2 separate regions of the Homo sapiens genome follow, and region 2 is linked to region 1. Evidence: promoter capture Hi-C in human tissues and cell types (Jung and others, 2019). All regions are on one chromosome and are shown on one strand. Each heading gives the region's core, a stretch centred on a gene start or on the middle of the fragment in contact. The rest is flanking DNA. Distances are from core to core; before and after follow the strand shown. Region 1 holds the start of OBP2B (odorant binding protein 2B). Region 2 has its middle 53 kb from the start of SURF6.

Region 1 (2,700 bases), core at 24-2,523:
TCCAGCCTGTTTGCTCATCTCTGGTCCTGAAGAGCCCAGGCCCCATTCTTTCCTGCCCGGGGGGATGAGGGTGGGGGGTTTCTGCTCGGCAGCACTTGCCGTGGGAGGGGTGAGGGACTGGGTCACACCAGCCCGTTCGTTACAGCCCCAGGGTTTATTAGAGTGTGCATTAGTATTATTGAGTAAGTACTTGAGAGTGTCTGATCTTGGGCCAGAGAGGCACAAAGATGCCATTGTGTGGGTCCAGCACCTGCCTGCAGAGCGTGGGTCAGCCTTGGGTCCCAGGGAAGATGACACACACCTGGGAAATGCAGGGTCCGGGAGGGAGAAGGCAAAGTTCTGGCTCAGGTTGGCTGGGGATGAGGCCAGCAGAGCCAGGTGCCCAAGGGACCTCAGCCACGAACTCTGAGCACAGGCTGGCAGGTGACTCTTGGTGCCTCATGCGACTTGTTTATCTAAAGGGATGAGATTCAAGGCCTGTCCTGGGGGCTGGGGGCCGTCAAAGCTGACGAGAGAGGGGAATGTATATTCTAACAGGGAGATGGTCGATGAATACGTGCAGGAAGAAATGGACAGGACAATCCAGAGAGATCGCGTGTTCTGAGGACAGCACAGCCAGGCTCCGGTACGGAGTGAAGCGGGGTCGGGGAGGCGGCGGGGTCCCTCATATGGCCCGAGGAGGCCGTATATAAACTGACCCTGAGCCACACAATAGTGCCCTCCTCTGCCCCTAGGAAGCTCGAGTGCAGGGTCCAGGTGGGGAAAATCAATGCAGAGTGGGTCCCAGAGTGGGCGGAAGCTTGGGCTCTAGGGCGTGCGGGACTCAGCTGGCAGCAGCCCCACGTCTCTCTGGTTCTAAAGCCCAGTCCATTTCTGCTCAGCAGGGAGATGGCCAGTTCCCCAGAGGACTTGCCCAGGGTCCCAGCCGTGGCCCTGGGAGGGTGCAGGGGTTGGTGAGGGAGTATCCCGAGGCTGTGGGCCCTGCCTCTGTGGCTTGGGGTGCAGATGGACACCACCCTGCCCTGTCCTCTCGAGTCCTCTGGGCTCATCTGAGTGGGCGCGTTCGGGTGGTGCAAACTCTGGATGGCATCGTGTGTCTTTTCTTCTCTGGCTGGCACTGACTTGCTGTTCACCAGATGCCAGCAATGAGGACACTCCCCCTCCCGGATGCAGGACTGGTTGCCACCATGGGGAGGGGTGCACCGTGCCACGTGCTCCCAGGACACTGGCCAGGGGGCTATAAAGAACATCTCGAGAGGAGCCAGCACAGCCTTGTTCAGACGCCCAGTGACCTGCCGAGGTCGGCAGCACAGAGCTCTGGAGATGAAGACCCTGTTCCTGGGTGTCACGCTCGGCCTGGCCGCTGCCCTGTCCTTCACCCTGGAGGAGGAGGATGTGAGCTGGGTTGGCGTGGGCGGATGGAGGAGCCAGGCGGACTCCTGGGCAGGGGGCAGTGCCAGGGGCCCTGCTTTAGGAGGTGTCACTGAAGGCTGGCTTCTGACCCCGTGCTCCCAGCCTGGGGTGGTGGTGGAGGGGTCCTATTGTTCCTCCAGCAGACACGGCCCCCCGAGGCCCAGGGCCGGAGCAGGCTCGTCTCAGGGGTTCCTGCTGCACTGACGCCTGAAGCCCGAAGGTCTCGCAGGGTTGGGCCCTGTGGAGGGAGGGCTCACCTGGTGCTGGGGCCCGGGGGTCCATGGGGTGCAGACATGCCCTCCTTCCACTGGGGGCTGGGAGCCCTGAGCAGGGGGCTGGCTCTAACTCACTCCAGCTGAGCTCTAACTAAGGTGCAGGAACACAGCCTGCCTTTAAGGGCAGCAGCCGGGCACCATGGGTGTCTGGTTATAGCTGCAGGCCTGAGTGCCAGGGTCAGAGTAGAATCTGGGCCACCCATGGTGGGCTCACGGCCTTGGCCTGCTCCAGATCACAGGGACCTGGTACGTGAAGGCCATGGTGGTCGATAAGGACTTTCCGGAGGACAGGAGGCCCAGGAAGGTGTCCCCAGTGAAGGTGACAGCCCTGGGCGGTGGGAAGTTGGAAGCCACGTTCACCTTCATGTGAGTGTTGCCCACTGCAGGGCCCCTCAGGCCACTTTCGCTCCCCTCCCCAGATCCACCTGGTGCCCATTGCCCCATCCACGTTTCGGGTGTTGGGAAGAGTCACCCCCTGCCTTGGAGGGAAACAGCCTGGGCATCCTGAAGCTCGGTGGGGTGGGGGGCAGTGGAATTTTCAGGTTGCCGGGTCAGGGCCATGCACCAGGTGAGCTGAGGATGGGCCATGGGTGTCCTGGGAGCCGCTGCCCGCGTGTCTCCTGTTTTCCAGGAGGGAGGATAGGTGCATCCAGAAGAAAATCCTGATGCGGAAGACGGAGGAGCCTGGCAAATACAGCGCCTGTGAGCCCCTCCCCCACTCCCACCCCCACCCTCCCCCACCGCCAACCCCAGTGCACCAGCCTCCACAGGTAGAGAGTGCCCAGGCTGCCCTTTTGCCAGGGCCCCAGCTCTGCCCACCTCCAAGGAGGGGCTGGCCTCTCCTTCCTGGGGGGCTGGTGGCCCTGACATCAGACACCGGGTGTGACAGGCTTGTCCGCAGTCGAGATGGACCAGATCACGCCTGCCCTCTGGGAGGCCCTAGCCATTGACACATTGAGGAAGCTGAGGATTGGGACAAGGAGGCCAAGGATTAGGTACGGGGAGGCTGAGG
Region 2 (2,700 bases), core at 167-2,666, 74 kb before region 1:
CTGGTCTCTGAGTTTCCTCAGTATTTATTGGTCACTATCTCTACCATCTCGGACAGGGTGATGTGGCAGGACTATAGAGTAATGGTGGGGAGAGGGTCAGCAGGAAAACATATGAGCAAAGATCTCTGTGTCGTAAATAGGTTTAAGGAAAGGTGCTGTGCCTGGATGTGCACGTAGGCCAGATTTATGCTTGACTTTACACAAACATCTGAGTGCATTAAGGAGCAGTATTGCCGCCAGCATGTCTCACCTCCAGCCATAGGGAGGTTTTCTGCTATCTCAGTATTTAGAGCGTATGATCGGGTTTTACACCAAGACATTCCATTCCCAGGGACGAGCAGGAGACAGATGCCTTCCTCTTATCTCAACTGCAAAGAGGCCTTCCTCTTTTACTAATCCTCCTCAGCACAGACCCTTTATGGGTGTCGGGCTGGGGGACGATCAGGTCTTTCCCTTCCCTCGAGGCCGTATCTCAGGCTGTCACATGGGGAGAAACCTTGGACAATACCTGGCTTTCCTAGGCAGAGGTCCCTGCGGCCTGGCCTTCTGCAATGTATTGTGTCTCTGGGTACTCGAGATTAGAGAATGGTGATGACTTTTACCAAGCACGCTGCCTTCAAGCACTTTTTTAACAAAGCACATCCTGCACAGCCCTAAATCCATTAAACCTTGAGTCAACACAGCACATGTCTCTGTGAGCACAGGGTTGGGGCTAGGGTTACAGATTAACAGCATCTCAAGGCAGAAGAATATCTCTTAGTACAGAACAAAATGGAGTCTCTTATGTCTACTTCTTTCTACATAGACACAGTAACCGTCTGATCGCTCTTTCTTTCCCCCACAACCCGCCGCCATCACTCATCTGGTAGAGCTTTGCTCACCACCATCACTCACCAATCAGAGCTTCACCCGCCACCATCACTCACTAGTCACAGCTTCATCTGCCACCATCACTCATCTAAGCTTTACCCACTGCAGTCATTCACCAATCAGTGTTTGCCAACTCCCTAGAACCTTACTAGTGCCAATGAAGTTTCTGGAAAAACAGTATGTGACATTTTTCATTTTTATAAAACCTCTAACAACTGAGCACGATGGCTGACAGGCGTGAGGTGGGAAGATCACTTAAGGCCAGGAGTTCAAGACCAGCCTGGACAACATAGTGAGACCCCCCTGTCTCTACTAAAAATCAGAAAAATTAGTCAGGCATGGTGGCATGTGCCTTGTAATCCCAGCAACTTGGAAGGCTGAGGTAGGAGAATTGCTTGAGCCCAGGAGTTGGAGGCTGCAGCGAGCTATGATTGCACCACTGCAGTGCAGACTGGGCAATAGACCAGACCCTGTCTCAAAAAAAGCAAAACAAAACAAAAACAATTTTTTTAAAAAATAGAAAAATATTCTCAAAGTCCAGCAGGAGGCAATTGGTTAAATAGATTATGCTCCACTTCTTGCTAAAATAAGACACATTTTGGTGACAGATAGCAGCTGACAGATGGCAGCCAATCGGAGGCCTCTAAAGGGCAGCAAGGGGTGTTGCCAGGTTCCTTTAGCTTAATAAAAACCCTAATTGAGGAAGCTCTTGAGCCGTTTGCTCCAGCCACTCCCACCCTGTGAATTGTTTTCAATAAAGCTGTGCTTTCCGGGTCTTTTGTTGCTTTGTCTTTCGTTTGTTCTTTCTTTGTTCTTTCTTACTTTGTGCATTTTGTTCAGTTCTTTGTTCAACACACCAAGAACCTTGATGACTCTATCTCTGCTTGGGTCTAATCAGTTATCAAACTAGAGTCAGACTGGATCTAAACGAAACCGCCTTCCAAACAGGGGGTCACCAATTTATAGACAGCTCCTCCCGGGTCATTGAAGGAAAAAGGCACAACGGGTACTCCTTAGTTGTTGGGGAGACCTCACAGAGGTAGAGTCAGGAAGACTGCCAAATGCCTGGTCTGCCCAAACATGCGAACTCTTTGCATTAAACCAAGCCTTAAAATCCCTGCAGAATCAGGAAGGAACTATTTACACCGACTCCAAGTATGCCTTTGGAGTAGTCCTTACCTTTGAAAAATCTGGACTCAACAAGACCTCGTAAATAGTAAGGGCCAAGATCTGGTCCACAAGGAATTAATTATGCAAGCACTAGAAAATCTTCAGCTGCTGAGCCGGGCATGGTGGCTTGCACCTGTAATCCCAGCACTTTGGGAGGCCGAGGCGGGCAGATCACCTGAGGTCCGGAGTTCAAGACCAGCCTGGCCAACATGGTGAAACCCCATCTCTACAAAAATACAAAAATTAGCCGGGTGTTGTGTTGGGCGCCTGTAATCCCATCTACTTGGGAGGCTGAGGCTGGAGAATTGCTTGAACCTGGGAGGCGGAGGTTGCAGTGAGCCGAGATCGTGCCACTGCACTCCAGCCTGGGCAACAGAGTGAGACTTCGTCTCAATAAATGAATGAATGAAAATCTTCAGCTGCCAGAAGAAATTGCAATTGTCCATGTCCTAGGCCCCCAAACACCCATCTTTTGAAAGCTGGGGAAACAACTTCGCAGATCAGATAGCTAAACAAGCTGTCTCTTCCCAAGAGGCACCCATTTTCCATCTCACCCCTTGTCTTCCCCCTCCAGCTGTGATCCCCACCTTCTCCCGTGCAGACCAAGAGAAACTAAAGAACATAGGAGCTAACGAGAGCCCAGAGGGAAAGTGGGTAATA

Evidence for each region. Contacts are between HindIII fragments. The study calls those that stand out against the background at their distance.
Region 2: a contact is called between a fragment that was not itself captured here and the fragment with the promoter of OBP2B in region 1, in 3 of the 25 tissues and cell types used here (H1 embryonic stem cells, mesendoderm cells and stomach).

Annotation. Positions count from the first base shown.
Region 1 is chr9:133,207,823-133,210,522 of GRCh38, reverse strand. OBP2B (odorant binding protein 2B) reads left to right here and starts at 1,273. Exons shown (of 7, transcript NM_014581.4): 1 at 1,273-1,395; 2 at 1,921-2,054; 3 at 2,320-2,390. The coding sequence starts at 1,324. The HindIII fragment of the contact is 7,424 bases long and covers 1-2,700 here.
Region 2 is chr9:133,281,541-133,284,240 of GRCh38, reverse strand. No RefSeq gene overlaps it. Among named protein-coding and RNA genes, the nearest start is that of SURF6, 53 kb to the left of the region's middle. The HindIII fragment of the contact is 8,824 bases long and covers 1-2,700 here.